Linked DNA regions of Homo sapiens: all the other regions are linked to region 2. Evidence: promoter capture Hi-C in 16 types of primary human blood cells and fetal thymus (Javierre and others, 2016). All regions are on one chromosome and are shown on one strand. The core of a region is centred on a gene start or on the middle of the fragment in contact, and the rest is flanking DNA. Distances in the headings are between cores, read along the strand shown. Region 1 has its middle 15 kb from the start of GEMIN8. Region 2 holds the start of PIGA (phosphatidylinositol glycan anchor biosynthesis class A). Region 3 overlaps LOC124905249 (a long non-coding RNA gene). Region 4 overlaps CTPS2 (CTP synthase 2). Region 5 has its middle 9.8 kb from the start of TXLNG.

The links. Contacts are between HindIII fragments. The CHiCAGO score rates a contact against its expected background, and 5 or more counts as called.
Region 1: a contact is called between a fragment that was not itself captured here and the fragment with the promoter of PIGA in region 2, in 4 of 17 cell types (M0 macrophages, activated CD4 T cells, neutrophils and 1 more). The highest score is 7.1, in M0 macrophages.
Region 3: a contact is called between a fragment that was not itself captured here and the fragment with the promoter of PIGA in region 2, in 1 of 17 cell types (naive CD8 T cells). The highest score is 5.2, in naive CD8 T cells.
Region 4: a contact is called between a fragment that was not itself captured here and the fragment with the promoter of PIGA in region 2, in 1 of 17 cell types (non-activated CD4 T cells). The highest score is 6.8, in non-activated CD4 T cells.
Region 5: a contact is called between a fragment that was not itself captured here and the fragment with the promoter of PIGA in region 2, in 1 of 17 cell types (naive CD4 T cells). The highest score is 5.1, in naive CD4 T cells.

What each region holds. Positions count from the first base shown.
Region 1 is chrX:14,042,361-14,047,352 of GRCh38, forward strand. No RefSeq gene overlaps it. Among named protein-coding and RNA genes, the nearest start is that of GEMIN8, 15 kb to the left of the region's middle. The HindIII fragment of the contact is 2,451 bases long and covers 1,263-3,713 here.
Region 2 is chrX:15,332,210-15,337,019 of GRCh38, forward strand. PIGA (phosphatidylinositol glycan anchor biosynthesis class A) reads right to left here and starts at 3,314. Exons shown (of 6, transcript NM_002641.4): 1 at 3,292-3,314. RefSeq lists enhancers at 3,066-3,115, 3,166-3,245. The HindIII fragment of the contact is 3,001 bases long and covers 1,710-4,710 here.
Region 3 is chrX:16,438,555-16,443,246 of GRCh38, forward strand. It overlaps LOC124905249 (a long non-coding RNA gene), which reads right to left. Exons shown (of 2, transcript XR_007068397.1): 2 at 1-507. Among named protein-coding and RNA genes, the nearest start is that of MIR548AM, 190 kb to the right of the region's middle. The HindIII fragment of the contact is 5,651 bases long and covers 289-4,692 here.
Region 4 is chrX:16,609,498-16,614,560 of GRCh38, forward strand. CTPS2 (CTP synthase 2) reads right to left here. Exons shown (of 19, transcript NM_175859.3): 17 at 44-188. Among named protein-coding and RNA genes, the nearest start is that of MIR548AM, 15 kb to the right of the region's middle. The HindIII fragment of the contact is 1,894 bases long and covers 849-2,742 here.
Region 5 is chrX:16,774,045-16,779,195 of GRCh38, forward strand. No RefSeq gene overlaps it. Among named protein-coding and RNA genes, the nearest start is that of TXLNG, 9.8 kb to the right of the region's middle. The HindIII fragment of the contact is 6,934 bases long and covers 1-4,743 here.

The sequences.
Region 1 (4,992 bases), core at 1,238-3,737, 1.3 Mb before region 2:
ATTTATTTATTTAGAGATAAGCTCTTACTCTTTTGCCCAGGCTGGAGGGCAGTGGCACAATTACAACTCACTGGAGCCTTTTTTTTTCCTTCCTACAAAAGAATTAAAAATAGGAGTAGAGTGGACCCTCTGTGCAATTAAAAATTAATTAATTTAATTTCACTAAATTGTACATTAACTCTGTGAATATAGGTGTTATATAAATTCAGGCATTTCTGCTACCCAGGGTGAGTGCTATTTTCTTTTAGTTCTGCTGTCTAAAATAAGACTCCAGTTCAACCTTAGCCACAGTGGATGTGTGGGTATTTTATTGAAGAGAGTTTATACTATAATTTGTTGAGCTTCACCCTGCTCTTGAAAGTATTTATGCACTTCCAGGGCTTGGGAAAATTTATTACACTTCCAAGCCTTCTCTTTCTTCCAAAAAACAAAAAAAATACCCAACAAAATTTGCAGTAACCACAAAACGAATAAGCAAACCCACCTCCTAATCTTCAGAATGGTGGTTGGAAGATAACTTGTAATGGGACATAATTTTTGGTTTCTATTGCTTAATTCTCAAGAACCTTACAGATTCCAAGGATCAATGTATAAAAAGTCATCTACACTTTGTAGGGGAGAAGGAGTGTCTTTCCTCACTCATTATAAGGTTCATGACTATAGGGGAGAAAATATAATTTCTTATTTTTACCCCTCTCTTAGTTGAGACACTCCTGAAAACGAAAGTCACGTTAACAAGAGAAAAACCAGCAGAAGTTTATTGACACGTGCTGTACCCATCACTTGGGAGAGGCCTCTGTTCAAAAGTATTTCTCTCTTAAGGCAGTGGCTTAGGGGACTTGCTTAAATAGTATTTCAACAAACAGCCTTAAATCCTATAGTGACAAGACAAAGAAGAGAGCATTTTCAGGCTTCCAAAAGGTGGGCAAATGTGGGAAGGTAAACTTATGGGAAGAGTCAAGTTTGTTCCTAGGTCCTCTGGCACTGTTATCTCTCAGCTGATGAGCAAGTGTAGGCAGGAAAAGTCAGGGAGGAGGACAGGAAGACCTTTGTCTTTGTAAATTGCTCTCCTGTCATCAGGCAGGCAGAGGGAGGGGCAGAGTGTCCTCTGGTGTTTTAACCTTCTTCAGGTCAATAGTCCTCAGTGTTTTAGACAGAAATATTTTGGGTTCCTTCATGGCTGAAACCCCAATAACAAATGACAGATTAAAAAGAGAAAAGCATAGCAAGTTTACTCAATATAAATTTTACATAACACAGGAAGCTTCAGAAATGAAAACCCAGAGACTAAGGGAAAACCATATTTTTGTGGACAGTCATGCAGAAGTGTGATTGGAGGACAAAATAATATGACATAGTGGTAGTAAATTTGGGGGAACTTAGCAAGGCCTGTTTGTTCAGATTCTTTTTGGCCTCTCTGTGTAACATTTCTTTCCTCTAGGTATAGGGCAGGACACCTGTCATATGAGGGTCTTCAGGGGAGAAAGGAAGGAGAGGGTCAGAGACTGACCTTCCTAGATTCTATGGCCTGTTTCAGGGGAGAATGGTGGGAGAAGATGAGAGAGACCTTCCTGCTTCTGCCATTTTCTCAATTGCCAAGCTACTGTATTTTGGGGTATTGTGTTCTGAGCCTGTCAGCTTAGATTAATGTTTGAGAAGTGACCATTTTGTAATAATCAATGCTAATCACTGGACAAATTATTGTACAGTGTAATTAGAAATGATCATCAACACTGGATAAATTATCTGAATGTTCATACTGTTTTATTGCTTGCCATGTGCAGGCATAGACTGTCTATGGAAGGAAAGGGAGTATATTTGGAGTGAATAACAGTGTTGTCTACATTAGGCTAGATTTGCTGGTCATTGTTATAGAAAGCCATTTAAGCAAATGTTATCACTTCCGTAGTTTGACGGCTACAGTAATGAAAACCTAAGGTGTCTTATTGTTATCTGAACATATTACATATTAGAAATGAATGTATCTATTGAATTCTGAATTATTCATGGTAGTAGTGACAAGGTTAATGTTTAGAAAAATTACTTAATCACACATATTGGAATAAGCCAAAATAAAGTGTTTAGAGTCTTGAAACCATTCCAAAATCACATTTTACCCAATAACTGAAAAAATATTCTTCCATCACACTTTGAAAGCACTGTGAATAATCATGAAATAACAGTACCCTTTCAAATTTTGGCTAATTTTTTGTTGGAAATGATGATGGGGGACAAGATGGTCCAAAGGTTAGGAACTAGAGAATACTTTCTCTTCTGGCTATATGATCCTATAAACATCTACAAATTTGGTGATCAGTAGCTCAGTGAATGTTAAGGGTAATGTACGCTCTCAATTTATTAGGTATCCATTGGTTTTCTATTAAACTAAATGTATGTAATCAATTTAATATGCATGATTGATAAGACCCATAGAAATAAAATACTAGTTGAATCCTTTACAGCAGTGGTTCTTAGCTTTGAATTCATATTGGAAACACTTGAACAGCTTTTAAAAATCCCAAACCCAGGTCACATTCCAGACCAATTAAACTAGAATCTCTTGGGGATGAGGCCCAGATATCCGTACTTTTAAAGCTCACTAGATAGTTCTAATATGTAGCCAACTTTGAGAAATACTACTTTATAGAACATCTCTGCTTACTCTTAGTTAAGTTTAAGTATTTCAGGGACTCTTTCTTTAACAATCATTAACAGTCTTTTTCTTAAACAGTCTTTAGGGACTGTTTCTGTTTCTTTTTCTTTAAATGGAAGCAAATCATTCCAAAATAATAGTTTATTTGTTTTATTTTATTCCTATCTGTTTTTTTTTGCTCTTGTTTCATTTTGTTTTATTTTTGCCAAGTTGATCAATATAGCATAATGGCATATGGAGTCAGGTCATTCTCAGTTTGAATGCAGATTGGGCTATTTACCAGTTGTCATAGATTGGCAATGTATTTAATCTCTAAGCAAGTTTCCCCCTGCCCCATCTATAGCAGTATTTCTCAACTGGAGGCAATTTTTTCCCACCAGGAGACATTTGTCAATGTTGGAGATGTTTTTGATTGTTACTGCTGGGGAGTTGTTTTTGACATCTACTGGGTAGAGGCCAGGGATGCTGCTCAACATCCTACAATGCACAGGACAGAGCCATAGCAAAGAATTATCTGGCTCCAAAAGTCACTAGTGCTGAGGTAAAGGAACCCTGATCTACAGAGTGAGGCTCTAGAGTCTGACTGCATTCAAAGTCTTATTTCTCTACTTCCTAACTGTGTAATCTTGAGCAATTTACTGAATGTATTCTTGCCTGAATCCCATGTGAAAATGCAGATATTATTAGCACCCACTTTGGAGTTGATGGGAGGTTTAAATGGGATAATGCATTTGGAGCATTAATACAGTGCAAATTATTACCACAATATGTGTCTTTCTGTTCTGGGGCATTTATGGCCTTTTGTCAGTATCCCTGAGATAATTTGTTTGATATATCTCTTGATAATCTGAGTTCATATTCCGTGGTTCAGTGGGAGAAGAGAAAAAGGGGTTGGAGGCTGGAGTTGTCTTTGAACATGTACATGCTTTCAATTTTAAGTGGGAATTCAGAGGAGATAGTTACACAGCACACTGTTAAATTCCTTCTCCCACTTTTCACTTTCCTCCCCCAGCTCACCACTAGCTTGACAATTGTATTGGGTTGGAGTATTCAAATAAAAAGCTTGTATTCAGCCAAATAAAAGTCAAAGAGATTCTTTTAAGTACAGGTTCTAAGGGAAAGTGCTTAACAGCAATGAGCACAGTTTATTTATTTATTATTTTATTATTATTTTTGAAAGCTCTAGGGTACACGTGCATGATGTGCAGATTTGTTACATAGGTAAACATGTGCCATGGTGGTTTGCTGTACCTATCAACCCATCACCTAGATATTAAGCCCAGCATGCATTAGCTCTTTTCCCTAATGCTCTCGGCCCCATGCCCCGACAGGCCCCAGTGTATTGTTCTCCTCCCTGTGTCCATGTGTCCTCATTGTTCAGCTCCCACTTATAAGTGAGAATATGTGGTGCTTGGTTTTCTGATTAACACGGTTTATTTGTAAACTTTATATTTATTATTAACAAGAAGCAGATAGCAACAGGAGTTTGAAATTCGGGGAAAAAAAAGCTCTGTGTTGGAAATAGAAATCTGGGACTTACTACTACAGAAGGAGTCAAAGTTATGGGAAAGAATGAGATTTCAAGGGAGACTGTAGGGAGAAGAGAGAAGAGGGCTCAGGATGTAATGTGAGAAATAAAGCTCAGCTAATAGTTAGTGCAAACCTACTGTGTGCTTGCCGGTCACCTTTCTAATCTATTATACTACATTTGGCTTTTAGGGAGAGTCACCTCCTATTCACAGTCCTCATCCCCAAGTGTTCTGAATCTGGCTTGAAACTAATAAATGAATCTTTACTGAAGACAATATGGAATGCTCACAAAATTAGGTAGAAAATTCCTATGTCGATTGCTGTCCATGAATCAGATTCATTTTTAATTTTTGTCATTATAATTATATAATCATATCACACAATTTGAATTTTTCTCTATGCATATGCTTTCCTGTACTCATAGTGTGCACAAAACTATGCATGTTTTTATAACAACTTTATTGAGGTATAACTCACATACCATATAGTTCACCAATTTAAAATACACAATTCAATAGTTTTTAGTATGGCTTCAAAATGTCTCTTCAAATGGCTATATCATAATTTGCTAGGTCTTTCTTCTATGTGGGGATATTTAAGTTGTTTCTAATTTTTTACCACTATAAGTAGATTTTTCTGCATGTAGATTTTAAAATATTTGGATTATTTTATTTTTAAAACTTTTTATTCTTTAATTGATACATTATAATTGTACATATTTGTGATGTACAATTTGATGCTTTGATATATGTACAGATTGTATAATGTTCAAAGCAGGGTAGCTAGCATATCTATCACCCCATGCATAT
Region 2 (4,810 bases), core at 2,064-4,563:
TACTGCTACATGTAACTTTAAATAGTAAGTTTGTTACACCACAGCATATCATGGTTTACCACGTTAACAAACCAGTCTCTTCCAATAATTAAGTATATATACACACATACATACACACATTTATATATTTCCCCTTTACTCTTATACTTTACCAGCTTCTATTAATACTTATTAAATGGCCACTATACATCAGCTACTACATGCTAAGACTCTTCTATATCTTATTGCAGCCTCACCAAAACTCCATGAGTTATCAACTCCATCTTATAAATGGAAAGTCTAAAGCTTAAAGGGGTTAAGAAATTTGTTCAGTTATTCAGTGCTTAGAGGTAACACAATGTAGCAGTCTGATTCATTAGCGGTCATGTCTTCTGGTATTTATGCCCTTCTATAGTATAGTCCCTTCCCGTTGCATTTGGACCTGGTTTAGCCCATAGAAGGTAGTGAAAGTGATGTGCAAATTTTTGGCCTCGGCCTAAAAAAGGTGTGGTGATTTCCAAGGTGTGGTGGTTTTCACTTGTGCACTCTTAGATATCCTAAGCCAAAGTGTAAGGAATCCATCTACTGTGCTAGAGGGACAAGGGAAGAGATAATATGGAGAAGGAAGAGCTCTGAGACTACATGGAAAGAGCCAGAGGCCCAGCCATCCAGCCAACTTACCAGCTAAATGCAGCCTCCTAGTGACCACTGGCAAGACCAAGAGAACCACCCAGCTGAGCCTAGCTCACTGCAGTATCATGAAACATACCAAAATGGCTATTGTTTTACATCGTCTTGGGGTGGTTTGGTAAAAAATAACAGACAACTAAAACAGGCCAGGATCCAAACTCGGTTATACTGGTCCACTGCCTGTTTTTGTAAAGTTTTATAGGCTCATAGGTGTGCCCATTCATTTATGTGAATGGCTACTTTTGTGCTACAAGAGCAGAGTAGCTACAACAGAGACCATATGACCCACAGAGCTGAAAATATTTACCATCTGGTCCTCTACTAAAGTTTGCCAACCCCTGCTCTATAGCTTAGCCACTGATTCAATTACTCTCAAAGTTTTGCTAGCATTACCTTTGTGGTTTACACTAAAACACACCCGGAGCTCGAACTATCTTTTTGAGAGCACCTTTTTCAAATGTCACCAGAGCACATGCTGCACACATGTTCTCCTTCCTTATTCAAAGAGGGTGATTATTTAGGCCGGGTGCGGTGGCTCACGCCTGTAATCCTAGCACTTTGGGAGGCTGAGGTGGGTGGATCACCTGAGGTCAGGAGTTCAAGACCAGCCTGGCCAACATGAAGAAACCTCATCTCTATTAAAAATACAAAAATTAGCTGGGCGTGGTGGTGCCTGCCTGTGGTCCTAGCTACTCGGGAGGCTGAGGCAGGAGAACCGCTTGAACCCGGGAGTCCGAAGTTGCAGTGAGCCGAGATCGCGCCGCTGCACTCCAGCCAGGGTGACACAGCGAGACTCCATCTCAAAAAAACAAAACAAAACAAAAACAAAAAACAGAAACACAAAAACCAAAGAGGGTGATTATGTAACTGCTCCCTTCACTTTTTAAACTTTTCTATCAGTTATGCAGGCCTTTCAAACTCAATGAGTGTCCCTCCCTTCAGTGCGGTGTCTAAAGATAAAGGCTAAACTAGAGATGGGCTGTATCTGGGACCATTTTCTCAATTTAAAGTGCGAAATGTTTATCTCAGGGGTCCCCTAAAGCTTTATTAATGTGAAATGCCCACTCAATATTTAGTACTACTGTACATTCTTAGACACTTAAAGCTAAAAAGAATCTTGGATATCTAGTCAAAATCTTCCTCAGCTTTACAAATGAGATTTCCAAGGCTCCAGAAAACAAACAACTATACAATGAGAAGCCATCCTAAAGCTCTGAGTTTCCGGTTTCACCTGCAAACTCAGAAAATGCCAATTAACTGTATGTGCAAAGGCTTAACTGTCTAGTCTCTCCAACAAATTCATCTACTTTTTTTTTTTTTTTTTTTTTTTGAGACGGAGTCTCACTCTGTTGCCCAGGCTAGTGTGCAGTGGAGCGATCTCGTCTCACTGCAGCCTCTGCCTCCCGAGTTCAAGCGATTCTCCCACTTCAGCCTCCTGAATAGCTGGAATTACAGGCGCACACCACAAGCCCAGCTAATTTTTGTATTTTTAGTAGAGACGGGGTTTCATCATGTTGGCCAGGCTGGTCTCGAACCCCTGACCTCAGGTGATCCACCAGCCTCGGCCTCCCAAAGTGCTGGGATTACAGGTGTGAGCCACCGTGCCCGGCCTCATCTACATTTTAAATATACTCTCGGAAAGACCCCAGAAGTGTTTGTTGACTGAGTTTACTAATTAAGATTCAATATTACCAAATATTGAAATTCCCCAAGTTTGTACTTTTAGGTGGCTTAACTAACATTTTCTTACTGTGGTCACCTAAACCCGAACTTCCAGTTCTACCAGTTTTAAAAGATGAACGATAGCAAAAACAGTGAGTAATGAACCAAATGATATCATTTAAAATGTTGTCATTAGCCTGCAACGTTCTGTGAGGAGTCTGCCCACTTCCGCCAGGTTTTCAGTCCAAACATCTTTGACATAAAAGTTCATTATGCTGCACAATCGCAGAATCTTAGCTCTTAAAGCCGAAATGAGGCTTGGAGCTCTAGTGAATACCTCTCTCGTTTTACAAATGAGAACCCAGACAAGTTGAGTGATTTGTCCAAGGTTCCCACCCAGCCACTTAAAGTGGCAAAGACATTACCGTAAAATTCTCGACCACGACCAACGAGCCCTGGGCAATCATTAGCAGTAGAGGTTCCTGAAGAACCTTAGGGAGACCTGGCAGGAGTTGTGGGTCAAGAGAATGGTACTTCCACCGACAATTCCTGGGCACTGTCTGAGCTTCATTCCCTGATTCCCTGAGAGGTCGCTGGGGAAACGCTCGGGCCAAGGAGGGGATACCCCTGCTCAGACAGCGACCCCGCTGGGTTCATGGCGGGGATGGCCAGGCCCAAAGAGAGAAAGAAAACAACCAAAGAGTGGACGTTGGTCTCAGGCCCGGGGTTCCGGAGACCCCAGTCCCTCGACCCACCCGCCTGAGCCAAGGAACCCAGCGCGTCCGCCCTAAACGCACCCTCAGCCCCAACCTACTCTGGAGACCCTCCGACCCAACTTCCGGGCTTCGAACCGGGTCGGTTTCACCCCCTCCACCACCCGCCACGATCCCACGCGCGCAGAACAGCCCCATCCGAAAGCGGCCCAGAGCGCTGGAGAGGGGCGGCGCGACGCGCACTCACCGGTGAGTTCCATGGCCGCCAGTGTCCGGACCTCCCGCGGCTGCAGCCGGAGTCCCTCCCTGCTGTTCCGCAGCACCAATCTAGGGCGTCCGCGCCCAAGGGCCGCGCCCCCGAGGCAGCCAATCACAAAGAGGCGCTGAGGTCACGTCCGAGAGAGACGCTCTGTCGTCCCCACCCTTAAGCGCGAGATGTAACGTCAGCGCGCGCCTGCGCCCGTCTCCTAGAAGCGGCCGACGGTAGGGTGGGTGCTCACCCTGGTTTCCTGGTTACAGCGTCTCTATTCCGGACGCCAGTTCTCTGCGCGCTTGCTTCTGATTGGAGAGACTTTTTGTTTGTAATCAGCTGTGCCACGGCAAAACCGTGCCGGTTCTTACCGCTCTGGGACGTTTGCCAGATAAATAAATAAAAATACACAAAAAGTCAAAACAGATGAAACTATGAAGTTTTAATTTCAGATAAAGCACAAATGATGTTTAATACAAGCATGTACCAAATATTGGGGACTTCACTACACATTCGTTTTTTATCGGACATGTAAATTTAACTAGACATCCTGTTATTTATATGGCAATTCTACACTCTGAGGGAAACATACGAGGTCTGATCTGAAATATCAACTCCCACTCGACTGGTTCAACTAGTTACGATGGTGCTTGACTAGGAAGCTAAAGAATCAGTGAGAGTGGTATGACGGTCATCCATGCGTCACAGCTGGTACTTGGAATCCCCCATCCCTGCCATACGTGCGTTTTCGAGAAGAAATTCCTTTCTGAGTACCATCACAGCCACCGTTACTGGCACCCATTTTATTAAGCCTAGTGTAAGCCTATTCATCCCTGAAAATGTCTGCTCCTTTCTGATGCTTTCCCCAAGCCTCCAGAGAATGAAATACTCTCACTTTTTAATTTTAATAGTACTTTGGCCACATGCTGGCCAAAGTATAACATTTATCAGATGATATTCAAGTTGTTTGCCTGATTGCATTCTCCCTCCTCACCCTGATCCTTGATTACTTGTCTCTTGAGATCTCACATGGACTTCTTTCTGAAAACGGAAATTGTATTTGCTTGTTAAATGTCTGCCTTCCCTGCCAGATAGTAAACTGAGGCAGGATCTGTTCTTGGTAATGGATGTTGAGGAAGTTTTAGTTTAATACATGAATTTCTTTACCCAATGTCAGCACACTCCCTGACACATATTAGATGCTCACAATAAAATGTATTGACAGTATTTCGTGGAGTGTACCTTATACAAATTACAGTGCAATAACATCATTGAAAGAGCATTTTAGTTGTGAGATTTGAAGCGAATTAATGAGTTGATGAGTAAGACTAGAGTAGCAATCGATACTTTGCCCTGTGTTAATATTGATGAAGCATCGGAGAATTACAGTGATGAAGACTCAAGGACACTTAATTAAGCTTTATAATTTGTAGTTGGTTTCACAGATAACAGCGACATTACCAGATAGGTACAGCATTTGGCCTCCTTTCCATTTTTGTAATAGGTTTTAAGACAA
Region 3 (4,692 bases), core at 1,864-4,363, 1.1 Mb after region 2:
ATGGTGAGATCCTGTCTCAAAAAAACAAAAAACCTAAAAATGGTCCTCAAGCTTAGTGCTGCCTAGCACTCCTAAGTACAAGAAGGCTGTGATGTACCTTATGGGAAAATAAATAAATAAATACATAAATACATAATTTGTGTTAGAAAAGCTTCTTTCAAGCATGCATTCTAGCTGTAAGTTCAATGTTAATGAATCAACAATATATATTAAACAAGGTGTCTTTAGACAGAAACATATATAAAACAGGGTTATGTTTGATCTATTCATGACAATGTAGTTACCAGAAGCTTGCAGGAACTTGTGCTTTTCCCCTAGGAACGATGTTTAGTATTCACTGATTCGGTGTTCATCGCAAGTTTATACACCCTAACTACCCCAAATAATGAGAATCAACTGTATTTAAATCACCAGGAATTATGCTGGAGCAGTGCTGGAAAGAATGACAGGAAGCGTTCTTCCTTGTACTCTTCAAGAAAGAAGAATGACCCAGGACTCTGGAGATGACTGCAACAAGAAAGAGGAGAAAGTGGTGAAGTCTGATGGCATGAGATGCAAAGCCAAAGGACATTAGGAAGGAGGAAGAAATTTCTGGAAGAATCAATGAGGAGCAATGAAACAATCAATGGGAACTAATATCAGAAATGTGAGACAGCAGGGGTAGGTTTGTGACAGAAATTTTTTGGCTCTTAAGTGGCACTAAACCTCACTATGGTATTCATCATCCCTCCTACGCTCTGTAATGGGAGCCCTGATTCTCCCCCTCTTCACATAGCTACAATAGCGGGTCACCTCGCTTCTAAATCTTCACATTTGGAAAAAGAAAAGAACAGCTTCATAGTACAAAGGCATAATTCTGCTTCACAACTCAGTATGTTACAAAATATAATCCATTTTCCTTTGCCATTTTTACATAAACACTTTTATTATGCCCATAGAGAAGAAAGGTTACCTTTTGAGGGAAATTATTCATGAGGGAAAAAAAATTAGAATTTTGAACAAGCCATTTAGGTGACCTATAGAGATGTGTGAAAATAGGATTTCAATCTGTATTCAATGACTAATCCGAAAAGATGAAAACGTAATTAAATTGCAGTAGCACCCCTCAGTTTAATTTAACCTTTAAGGGGCCTGGTCAATGTTCTCTTAAAATTAATTTCAACCTGTGACTTTCCAGGGAACAGAGAGAAATAGAACTTATACTTAAATACATGCATGCATATTTATAAACATAGTTTATTTACCTTTATGCTTTTTCTCCCAACAGGTAAGTCTAGATTGCTTTTTTAATTTATTTATTTTACTTTAAGTTCTGGGATACATGTGCAGAATGTGCAGGTTTGTTACATAGGCATACATGTGCTATGGTGGTTTGCTGCACCTATCAACCCATTATCTAGGTTTAAAGCCCTGCATGCATTAGGTATTTGTCCTAATGCTCTCGCTCCTCTTGCCCCCCTCCCCCGCCCCCGCCAACAGGCCCCAGTGTGTGATGTTCCCTTCCCTGTGTCCATGTGTTCGCATTGTTCAACTCCCCCTTATAAGTGAGAACGTGCAGTGTTTGGTTTTCTGTTCCTGTGTTAGTTTGCTGAGAATGATGGCTTCCAGCTTCATCCATGTCCCTGCAAAGGACATGAACTCATTCTTTTTTATGGCTGCATAGTATTCCATGGTGTATACGTGCCTCGATTAGAAATTTACCAAAAGTTTAATATCTCACAAGTTCAAAAAAAGTGTTCAGAGCTTGCTTTTCTCTACTTATTTTGGGTTTATCATTTCATTCCTTTTAAAAATATTAAAGAAGTAGAAATCAAATTATGTGCCAGTTTGACAAGATCCTCCCACCTTTAGGAACAGAAAAAATTTAATAAATTGTCATCACTAGCCTGAAATGATTGAATATATAATTTACCTAAAGTTTAATAAAATAGCTGAACTAGGACACAATGGGGAGAAGTGTTTCATGAAGAAAAATGTGGACTAATTCATATGAGAATTATTTTAAAGGCATACTTGGAACTCTTGCTTGATTAAGTTTAAGAAATAGTAACATTGCCAAGGGCTGGCACAAGAAGAAGGAAGCAGACACTCTCCTACACAGCAGTGGCAATTTAAGCTGTGTCCAAATTTCTAGAAGGCAATTTGGCAAGATATATCAAAAGCTGTAATAACAGATGTCCCCATTGACCACAACTGCCACTTTTCTTGGAATTTATCTTAAGAAAATGAATGAAGGATGTAATAAAATTTTGCACAACATTGATTACTCTGTTGTTTAAAATTAGAGAAAATTAGAAACAATGAAAATGCCTAACAATAAAGAATTGCTTAAATCGCAGGGCCCTCCCTCTCCCACCCTCACTCCCTTCAGTCTATTCTCAGTGCAGTGGCCAGTGTTATCCAATTAACAAGCAATGACCTGATGGTCACATCACTCGTGTGCTCCAAAGCCTCCAATGGTTCCCCTCACTCAGGGTCAAAGCCAAATCTTTACCATGATCTAGCACCACATTTTGCATAGTATAGAGTTGCTATTTAAGTGGCTCTTCCCTACAAGGGTATGTGATCCAGGTAACCTGTGGTCTTCACCTTAGACACAGAAGAGTCTAGAATTTTAAGTAGCTCCCTCTGAAAGTATATTCCAGATGATATTAGCCCTGAGAGACACATAAATGTTTAGTATTTTCTACAAAATTCTGAGTAGATTTGAGATATTGAACAGAACGCTGTTTTTCCCTATGAAGTGACTATTGAGTTCTGTATCACTATCAAGTGACTATCATCCATCATCTAGACTACTGCAAAGCTGCCTACTCCATTTCCTGGCCAGCCATTCCCTGTCCTCTCCAATCTATTCACCACAGTGCATTGAAAGTAATCTCTTTTTTAAAAAGCGGTCATAATTTCCTCATGCTTAAAACCTATCAAAGCCTTCCCATTTCTCTACATATCAAGATCTAATTTACTGATGGTCAAGGTTCTAGAACATTGCTATGTAATGGAAATATATTGGGAGCCATGTATGTAATTTTAAATTTCATAGTAGCCATTTTTTATTTTAAAAAATAGAATTAATTTTAATACTGTATTTTATTTTAGTCAATATTTTCAAAATAGTATCATCTTAATATGTAATAATTCAAAAATTATTGATGAGATGCTTTACATTCAGTTTTTCATAGCAAGTCTTTAAAATCTGGTGTGCGTTTTACCCTTACAGCACAACTCAAATTGGACTAGCCACCTTTGACATGCTCCATAATCCATCATGTCATGTGGTTAGCAGCCACCATACTGGATAGTGCAATTCTACAAGGTCAGGACCATGCCTACCTCTTTAGCCTTCTAATAAGATTCATGCTATAGGTATATCTAACCACCAGGTTCTCCAAGTTGCCATTCTCTCTTTCCCAGTCCTTTATTCATGTTGAGTTTTTATACAACAAATAATTTGAAAGAAGAAAAATAAGCAAATTTTTAAATAGGCAAAAGATTTGAAAAAACATTTTACCAAAAATATATACAAATAGCTAATAAGCAGATGAAAAGATACTCAACAACATTAGGCATTAGGAAAATGCAAGTCAAAACCAAAATAAAATAGCATTTCACAACCACTAGAATAGTTATAATTTAAAAGACAAACAGTAACAAGTATAGATGAGGATGTGAAGAAACTGGAAATCCTCATACATTGCTACCAAGATTGTAAAATAGTACACTTATTTTGGAAAACAGTCTTGTAGTTTCTCAAAATGTCAGAGAGTCACCATATGACCCAACAATTCCACTCCTAAGTATCTACCTAAGGGAAATGAATGAAGATGTATGTTTATAGAAGACATATGTCTCTACAAGACTTGTAGAAGCAATCAAAATGTTCATCGATAAATAAACTGTGGTATATTCATACAACACAGTACCATTCAGCAATAAAAAGGGACAAAGCACTGATACATGCTACAACTTGGATGAATCTCAGAAACATTATGCTAGTAAAAGAAGCCAAACACAAAAGACCACTGGATGTTAGGTCAGTGGCCTGGACCCAGCTCCACTAATCACTACCTGTGTTACATTGGCCAGCTACTACACCATTCTAAGATACAACTTCTGCTTCTGCAAAAGTCAGTTTAATAACAAGTGCCGTTTCAAACTTAAACAGCCTTGCACATCAAGAGAGGCAGCATATAAGAACAAGCCTTAAATGGCTTTTCTCAAAAATATAGAGAATAACAAGTGTTGGTGAGGATATAGAGAAAGAGGATGCCTTTACATTGTTGGTGGAAATGTAAATTAGTATAGCCATCATGGAAAATGGTATGGAGGTTCCTCAAAAAACTAAAACTAGAACTACCATATGATCCAGTAATCCCACTTCTGGGTATATTGCCAAAAGAATTGAAATCAATATGTCAAACGGATATCTGCACTCCCATGTTTATTGCAGCACTGTCCACAATAGCCAAGATATGGAATCAACCTAAGTATCCATCAACAGACGAATGGATAATTACAATGTGGTATATATACACAATGGAATATTATTCAGCCATGAAAAGAAGGAAATTCTGTCATTTGCAACAACATGGATGAACTTGGAGGACATTATGCTAAGTGAAATAAGCCAGTGCAGAAAAATAAATACCATGTGATCTCATTTATATGTGGAATCCTAAAAAGTTAAACTCA
Region 4 (5,063 bases), core at 546-3,045, 1.3 Mb after region 2:
ACTATGCATCTTGGTTTATTGCTAAGAGCAGTAAGCTGGTTACCTGGAAGACAGTTTGCAACCCTGTTGCAAGTAGGCATTCAGGTTCCCAGTTGCTGCAAGTAACAGCCCCAGATACGGAGGGGAAGGCTTCATCGGCCTAGAAGAAAACTCAGGATGGAACTGGACACCAACAAAATAAGGATGATCTGAAATGAGAACAATCACGATGCGATTAAAGCAGACAAACAGGAGAACTGCTTTAAAGATCTTCTTATCTTTGAATATGAAAACTCATTAAATGGTAAGATGATTCTTTAACCTGTTATCATTACAGCCAGTTACTTTCACTATCCATCCATTCCTTCGTGGAATTTCAAATTGTAAAACACATCTTGGAAATTTTATGTGCGGAAGGTGTCAGAGTGAGCAAAGTCAAGCAAAAATTTTTGAATGGCAAGAAGAATTCCACTTTCCCCAAATCTGCCTGCTTTTTGAAGGCACTTTGTAGATTTATGTTGGTTCAATTTCCCTTGGACTTTAGGCTAACCCTGGGTCTTTCTTTCTTTAGGTGGCTTCAGGCCATTTCCTGCAAGGTCTTCTCCTTTCCCAGGGTAAGTGTCCCCTGGGATAAACCAGCACAATATCAACCCATTGGGCTACCCTTGGGAACCCAACGAGGACAATTGCTTTTCTAGTCACAGCTTTAAGTTGGGTATTACTCATAGCACCACAAAACTGAGCATTTTTTGAACAAAGTGATTCAGAGCAATGATCCATTCATTCAAATATCCTGTCCCTGGCTATGACTCAAACTAAAGATAATAAAATATAATAAGTTTAAGAGGGGGAAGTAAATATAACTTTAAAGCTTTCAATGAGGTGCTTTATCAAATGATCTAAAATCTAGTATGGAATTCAAAATCACAAATTCCCATCACTTACCAGCAAAGATCCAAAGCTACTACTACAGTAATAAGGAAATGATGATTGAATGCAAATGTCTACTTTCTTAAGGTAATCATTTAAAGCCCTGCTAGAACAGCTATTATTAAAAAAGTCAAAAAACAGCAGATGCTGGCAAGGCTGTGGAGAAAAGAAAACATACTGTTGGTGGGAATGTAAGTTATTTCAGCCACTGTGGAAAGCAGTTTGGAGATTTCTCAAAGAACTTAAACCAGAATTACCATTCAACTCAGTAATCCCATTACTGGGTATATACCCAAAGGAAAATAAATCATTCTACAAAAAAGACACATGCACTTACATGTTCATGGCAGCAGTATTCACAATAGCAAAGCCATGGAATCAACTAGATGCCTATCAATGGTGGAATGGATAAAGAAAATGTGGCACATATATACCATGGAATAGTATGCAGCCATAAAAACGAAACCATGTCCTTTGCAGCAACATGGATGCAGCTGGGGGCCATTATTCTAAACGAATTAACACGGAAACAGAAAACCAAATACTGCATGTTCTCACTTATAAATGGGAGCTAAACATTGGGTACTTATGGACATAAAGATGGGAACAATAGACACTGGGAACTACCAGAGGGAGGAAGGAAAGGGGAGTGCAAGAGTTGAAAAACTATCTGTTGGGTACTCTAGTCAGTACTTGGGTGATGGGATCCATACCCTAAACCTTAGCATCACACAATATAACCATGTAACAAATCTGCACGTGGGCCAAGCACAGTAACTCATGCCTGTAATCCCAGCACTCTGGGAGGCCAAGGTGGGCAGATTTCTTGAGCCTAGGAGCTCGAGACCAGCCGGGGCAATATGGTGAAACCCTGTCTGTACAAAAAATACAAAAATTAGCTGGGCGTGGTGGCGTGCACCTGTGGTTCCAGCTACTTGGGAGGCTGAGATGGGAGGATCGCTTCAGCCCAGGAGGTGGAGGTTGCCATGAGCCATGATAATACCACTGCACTCCAGCCTGGGTGACAGGGTGAGACCCTATCTCAAAAACAAAAACAAACAAACAAAAAAAACTGCGCATGTACTCCCTGCATCCAAAATGAAAGTTGAAATTATTAAAAAAAAAAAAAAAAAGCTCTGCTATAGAAAATGGTAGCCACTAGCCATATGTAGCTACTTAAATTCATTAACATTAATTCAGCATTTGAAACATGTTCAAAGTTACATGTGGCTAGTGGCTACCATATTGGATAGGGTGGACTAGTTCTATCATTGCAGTGAGTTCTATAGGACAGCTCTGATCCCAGAAAAATCCAGTGAGTTCTATAGGACAGCTCTGATCCCAGAAAAATCCAGTGTAGAAATCCTCTACATCTAAGAAGAAACCTCCTTGAATTAGAGGAATATGCAGGTAAGAAAGCCTGATAAGGGGAATGCCACCTTCTCCCAGGAATGTATTCCCTCAAGAAACGCAGAGAAATCATCCGCACTTAGAGAAGAAATTAAGCAATGTAGCTTAAAATTTAAGAGACAATAAATCTTACTGCATAACATCTAGGGACATCTTTGAAAAAAAAGCAGACAGTAACTGTGCTTTTGTATCACTACAGACAGATGCTGAGCAATGTAATCATGTAATAGCCAGGGACAGACTATGTGAATGAATGGATCATTGCTCTGAATCACTTTATCCAAAAAATCCTCTATGCCAATATGAGGAGAAAGTAAAAAGTTTTTATTTTGATGATGTTCTATCAGTTAGATAAAATTATCTTTAAAATAATGCTGTTGATTGCTTTAAACCAAATTCTGACATTATATAATATTAATCTCAAGCTTTGTTGTTCCTCTCAGAACCCTTCAGGAACAGTGGAGATTCGTGGATATGTTTCCAAGGGGTATCTAAGATCAAAATCTTCTGGGGAATTTTCCTTAATAACTGCTTGCAGTCCGCTTTTAAAAACTGCAAGGTTTTATAGCAGCTCTCATTTCCTTTTCAATCCACATGAAATTTGAAAGCCCCAGTGGGAATCTAAATCCTTATGATGAAAGAACCTTCTAAGTATTTGATGACAATAATGACAACCAGAAGAATTAAAAGTGAATAAGTACTTAAACAAAGTAAACAAATAGTAATTTGCTTAAGAAATTTTCTGCCTTCTCACATGCTAGGAAGATTTAAGAGGCTTCAATACCAACAGCGATCCACACTTTAATTCTAAATGATGGGCATTTCCATCAGAAAGACTCCTGGAAATGCGTACTTACTATTCTAATTCAAAACTCTAGGCATGAATTGATCATCTTAGGTAGAACGTGAAAACAAGAGAAACAATGAAATCCCACAGCAGTGGTGGCAGAAGGAGGTAACCAACTGGGTTTGCTCTTGCTGCAAAGGACTAGCTGGATGGCCCTGGGCATGTCATTTAACCTCTTTGCACTCCGGTGTCCTCTGTAAAGTGGGAATAGCATCATCTGCTTTGTTAGTTACATAAGGTATGCAAAGTCCCTAGCAAGAGGTCTAGTGACAAGCATCCAGTAAGTGCACACTGAATGTCCATTGCTTTCCTTCTTTCAGGTCTAGGTAAAATGCTACAACGTTCAAAGGAGCCTTCTTGGACTTCAATTCTCCCCTCTGCTCGGGACTCTGGAAGTACTTGAACAGATTAGAGACAAAAAGGAAAAGAGACAGAGAAAAGGCATTTGAAATGGAGAATAGTGATATGAGCTAAGACGGAGAAAGAAGAGGGAGGTTAGAAGACGCACAGGCAATCCAATTTATCTGGAGCCTAAAGCATATAGGCTGGAAATGCAGGTTCTGGAACATCACGGTACCATTTTTACAGTATCCTGCACACCCTTAGTACTCAATATATGAGAGTGGTTTATCCAACAAATTAGTGTCACACACTGCAGAGTTCTGTTCTTGTTAGGAGGTATTGGAGAAGGGATGGCTTGGAAGCAGGAAGGAGATTGAGGACAAGTGTGAGCTGGAGTTGGCATGCACTGGGACTAGTGTTCTAGGGATGGCAGTGCAATTCTAAACACCAGCTTTCTTTCCAGAGGCAGAATCTGCAGGACTTGACAACACACTGCTAGTTGGGATCTGAAGGGGAAGAAGAGCTAATATGTGAAATTTCTAGCCTGATAGTCTAGGAGAATGGTTCTCCACCAAATGTGCCCCCCAGGGACTTGCCTTTTTTTTTTTAAGATAGGGTCTTGTTCTGTCACCCAGGCTGAAGTGCAGTGGCATGATCATGGCTCACTGCAGCCTCAACTTCCCAGGCTCAACCTCCTACCTCAGCCTCCTAAGTAGCTGGGACCACAGGCACGAACCACCATGCCCAGCTAATTATTTAGTTTTTTGTAGAGACAGGATCTCACTATGTTGCCCACGCTGGTCTCGAACTTCTGGCTTCAAGTGATCTTCCGACCTTCGCCTCCCAAAGCGTTGGGATTACAGGCGTGAGCCACTGCACCTGGCTCTCCAGGGGCATTTGATGATGTCTGGAGATATTTTGGGTTGTCACAACGTGGGAGGTAGGGATGATAGTGGCAGTGAGTAGAGGCTAGGAATGCTGCCAAACACTCTACAACAGGGGTGTCCAATCTTTTGGCTTCCCTGGGCCACACTGGAAGAAGATGAATTGTCTTGGACCATACATAAAATACACTAACACTAATGATAGCTGATGAGCTTAAAAAAAAATTGCAAAAAAATCTCATAATGTTTTAAGAAAGTTTACGAAATTGTGTTGGGCCACATTCAAATCCACCCTGGGCTGCATGCAGCCCACGGACTGTGGGTTGGACAAGCTTGCTATACAGTGCACAGGACAGCCTCCACGACAAAGAATTATTCCACTCCAAATGTCAATCAATAGTGGCAAGGCTGAGAAACCCTGGACAAGGATATTGATGATATCTTAACAGAAACAGGAGAATGAACTAATTGGGAGACCATGTAAATTTAGTTTTAAATAAGTTGAGATGGAAGTGGCAACACAACATCCAAATACACAAACAGGTCAAGGAGGCACGTGAAAATGTTAAATTCAAGTTAGTTAAATGAAGTGTATATGTGTGAGTCTAGCCCAGGAGTTAGCAAATGTTTCTGTAAAGGGCCAATATTCTATAAAAGGTAAATATTTCAGG
Region 5 (5,151 bases), core at 27-2,526, 1.4 Mb after region 2:
AGACCTGGAAGCAGGCATTTCTTCAAGGAATCTTGATTCCTTTTGATGGGAAAAGCTATTTACTCTTCAAGAATTGTCAGCCTGGCGTGGTGGCTCACGCCTGTAATCCCAGCACTTTGGGATGCCAAGGCAGGAGGATCACCTGATGTCAGGAGTTCAAGACCAGCCTGAACAACATGGTGAAACCCCGTCTCTACTAAGAATACAAAATTAGCCAAGCGTGGTGGTGGTGCATGCCTGTAATCCCAACTACTTGGGAGGCTGAGGCAGGAGAATTGCTTGACCCCAGGAGGCAGAGGTTGCAGTGAGCCAAGATGGGGCCATTGCACTCCAGCCTGAGCAACAAGAGTGAAACTCTGTCTCAAAAAAAAAAAAAAAAAGAATTGTCCTGCAGACTGGGGGCAGTGGCTCACACCAATCCCAGCACTTTGGAAGGCCAAGGAGGGAGGATCCTTTGAGCCCAGGAGTTCAAGACCAGCCTGGGCAACATAGTAACACCAAGTCTCTACCAATAAAATGAAATAAATAAATAAAAATTAGCCAGGCATGGTGGTGCATGCCTCTAGTCCCAGCTATTTGGGAGGCTGAGGTGGGAGGATCACTTTGCTACCCGGGAAGAGTGTCCAGGTTCTTGGCGTCTTGAGCAAAGAATTAGACAAAACGCACAAAGCAAGGAAGGAATGAAGGGATTTATTGAAAATGAAAGTACACTCCACAGGGTTTGAGCAGGCCCAAGCATAGCTCAAAGGCCCTGTTTCAGAATTTTTGGGAGTTTAAAAATAACCTCTACTTGAGGTATGCCCTATGTAAATGAAGAGGATAAAGTAAAGTTACAATCATTTACTTGGCCTACGCCCTATGGAGAGGCTATTTCCTGTCATAGCTGAAGTGTGAATCGGCCTTATATTCCCTACCTCCAGATCCTATTTTCCTGCCTCAACTTGAGCCCTGGAGGTAGAGGCTGCAGTGAGCTATGATCACACCACTGCACTCCAGCCTTGGTGACAGAGCAAGACTTGTCTCACAAATTAATAATTAAATAAAAAGTAAATAAAATATGACATTGATCAAAACTTCATTAGTAGTATTAGAAGACAAAGTTGAGATCATCTACAAAGTACAGATGTTTCCTGACTTATGATGGCGTTATGTTCCAATAAACCCATCAGAAGTTGAAAATATCATAAGTGGAAAATGCATTTAATACACTTAACCTGGCCGGGCGTGGTGGCTCATGCCTGTAACCCCAGCACTTTGAGAGGCCAAGGCGGGTGGATCACCTGAGGTCAGGAGTTCGAGACCAGCCTGGCCAACATGGTGAAACCCCTTCTCTACTAAAAATACAAAATTAGCCAGGTGTAGTGGCACATGCCTGTAGTCTCAGCTACTCGGGAGGCTGAGATAGAAGAATTGCTTGAACCTGGGAGGTGGAGGCCACAGTGAGCCAAGATGGTGACACTGCACTCCAGCTTGGGCAAGACAGAGCAAGACTCCATCTCGGAAAAAAAAAAAATACACTTAACCTACCAAACATCATAACTTAGCCTAGCCTACCTTAATGTAAGCTCATAATACTTTGTTTTTTTGAGACGGAGTCTTGCTCTATTGCCCGGGCTGGAGTGCAGTGAGACGATCTCGGCTCACTGCAACCTCTGCCTCCCAGGTTCAAGTGATTCGCGTGCCTCAGCCTCCCAAGTAGCTGGGATTACAGGCGCCAGCCACCACGCCCGGCTAATTTTTGTATTTTAGTAGAGATGGGGTTTCACCATGTTAGCCAGGTGTGTCTCGAACTCCTGACCTCAGGTGATCTGCCCACCTCGGCCTCCCAAAGTACTGGGATTACAGGCGTAAGCCACTACTCCTGGCCAAGCTCATAATACTTATATTAGCCTACAGTTGGTCAAAATCATCAAACACAAAGCTGTTTTATAATAAAGTGTTGAATATCTCATGTGCTTTATTGAATACTTGTACTGAAAGTGAAAAACAGAATGGTTGTATGGGTACTCAAAGTCAAATTCATACAACTTTGGCACCATCGCAACATCAAAAATTGTAACCCTGGAACTGTCTGTAGCAAAACAGGATATAGGAAAATAGAAGAGAAAAGATAAGAAACATGGAGCAGGGCACCGTGGCTCCCACTGAGGTGGGAGGATCACTTGAGTCCAGGAGTTTGAGACCAGCCTGGGCAACAGAGCAAGACCCTATCTCAATTTTAAAAAAAGAAAAAAGAAACATAAAAAAGAAATTATTAATAGGATACTATACAACTAGGTTGTGAATAATATCTACATGAAAATAATGTAAAAAAAATTAAGATATTAAATTAACAAAATGAAAACAACCATTTAGAGAGGATGATGTGATGATGGGAGGAAGTGAGCATCTGTGTGTGTGTGTGTGTGTGTGTGTGTGTGTGTGTGTGTGACTGTGAGTGAAAAAGCATAGACCCTCTTCCCTAGAAGCAAATCTATATATATCTTTCTGTGATTTCAGAATCAGCTTGATGGCAAGTGACAGAAAAATCCAGAATTACAGTGGTTTAAACTGGATGCTGATTTCTTTCTTTTTCTTTTTTCTTTCTTTTTTCTTTTTTTTTTTTTTTTTTGAGTCTCACTCTGTCGCCCAGGATAGAGTGCAGTGGCACAATCTCAGCTCACTGCAACCTCTGCCTCCTGGGTTCAAGGGATTCTACTGCCTCAGCCTCCCGAGTAGCTGAGATTACAGGCTTCCACCACTATGCCTGGCTAATTTTTTGTATTTTTAGTAGAGACGGGGTTTCACCAGGTTGGCCAGGATGGTTCCCCTTTCTTTTCTCTTCTCTTTTCTTCTCTTCTCTTCTCTTTTTTCTTTTTCTTGAGACGGATTCTTGCTCTGTCGGTGGTGCGATCTCAGTTCACTGCAACCTCCACCTCCCAGGTTCAAGCAATTCCCCTGCCTCAGCCTCCCAAGTAGCTGGGATTACAGGCACGCGCCCCTACATCCAGTTAATTTTTTTTTTTTTTAAGATGGAGTTTCACTCTTATTGCCCAGGTTGGAGTGCAATGGTGCGATCTCAGCTGACCGCAATCTCCGCCTCCCGGGTTCAAGCAATTCTCCTGCCTCAGCGGCCCAAGTAGCTGGGATTACAGGCATGCGCCACCACGACTGGCTAATTTTGTATTTTTTAGTAGAAACGGGGTTTCTCCATGTTGGTCAGCCTGGTCGTGAACTCCCAACCTCAAGTGATCTGCCCACCTTGGCCTCCCAAAGTGCTGGGATTACAGGCATGAACCACCGTGCCTGGCCTAATTTTTGTGTTTTCTTTTTAGTAGAGATGAGATTTCACCATGTTGGCCAGGCTGGTCTCGAACTACTGACCTCAGGTGATCCACCTGCCTTGGCCTCCCAAAGTGCTGGGATTACAGGCGTGAACCACCGAGCCCAGCCCTTTTCTTTTCTCTCTTTTTTTTTTTTTTTTTTTGAGACAAGGTCTTACTCTGTCGCCCAATTTGACGCTGTAGTGGGCTAGGATGAAAACCACTATACTCCAGCCAGGGTAACACAGAGAAAGAGATTCTGTTTCTTAAAACAAAATGAAACAAAAAAAAAAACTTGAAAAAATTGTTCGGCTGGGCGCAGTGGCTCACACCTGTGATCCCAGCACTTTGGGATCACAAAATACAAAAATTAGCTGGGCGTGGTGGCTTGCACCTGTAATCCCAGCTACTCAGGAGGCTGAGGCAGGAGAATCACTTGAACCCGGGAGGCGGAGGTTGCATTGAGCCGAGAGCGTGCCAACTGCACTCTAGCCTGGGTGACAGAGCAAGACTCCGCCTCAAAAAAAAAAATTGTTTTAATTGTTTTGAGACAGGGTCTCAGTTTGTCAAAACAAAAAATTGTTTTAATTGTTTTGAGACAGGGTCTCACTTTGCATTCTAGCCTAGGTGACAGAGCGAGACTCTGTCTCAAAAAAAAAAATTGTTTTGTTTTGAGACAGGGTCTCACTCTGTCACCCAGGCTGGAATGCACTGGCATGATCACAGCTCACTGCAGCCTCAACCTCCTAGGCTCAAACGATCCTCCTGCCTCAGCCTCCCAAGTAGCTGTGACTACAGGTGTGCACCACCACACTTGGCTAAGGCTAATTTTTTATTTTTTGTAGAGATGGGGTCTCCCTATGTTGCCCAGGCTGGTCTTGAACTCCTGGCCTCAAGCAATCCCCCTGCCTCGAACTCCCAAAGTGCTGGGATTACAGACATGTGCTACCACTCCTGGCCCCGAGATTTTCAATAAAGCCTAAACCTATTTGTAGTTTGTATTTTTCTTTTCCATTGTCTCTATACATGAACATTGTTTCCATGTCCTTGAAGTCTATAATTATAGGCGAGACTTGGGGAAGTATATCAAAACAAAATGAATGAATCCCAATACTCTGAAATATGCAATATACGTATTCGAATTTTTGAAACGCACATACTCTCTCCCAATAGTCCATACATGAGAAGAGTTTTTATTTTAAAAATCCTCTTTCTGCTAGAGCTGGCACCCTGGTGTGTGCCAATCTAATAGTACACTCCATAGCCTGCCATCAGTATGCCTGAGTGATCTGTGTATAAAGTATAATCATTTTCTAAATCTTTCAGTGTCTGCCAGAAATGTGGACATCTATAGCAAATGCAGAAACTGGCCAAATTCCTACAAGGACTAAAATCAGGGTTAGCTCAGAAAGATGGTATTGTGTAATCATATTAAACAATAAGCTTTTTGTTCTATGAAGAGGCAAACACTCTTTTTCACTACCTACAACCCCAATAGTATGCAACAAACATGAAATTCAACTCTTTTGATGAAACAATACTCTTGGCTGATTTAAAAGTTAGTAGGAGCTTTTCTTTCTGTGAAAGTACTCTGAGGTGGACAAGTCAGACTAGTGTGGCTAATTTAACTTCTGTTGACCCTTTAGACACAGCTCAGATGTCACCTTAAACCATCCTTAAACCTCCCCACCACCAGTAGAAAATAACCCTCAAGAGGTTACCCTGCAATACCTCCATTTTATAAATTACTTTATTGTTTGTTGTACATGTGAGTGTTCAGTGTTGGCCTGGGTACCCCTTATTCTAAATCAAGGTATGCCTGGTGACTAATACAGTGCTCCTGTTTAAC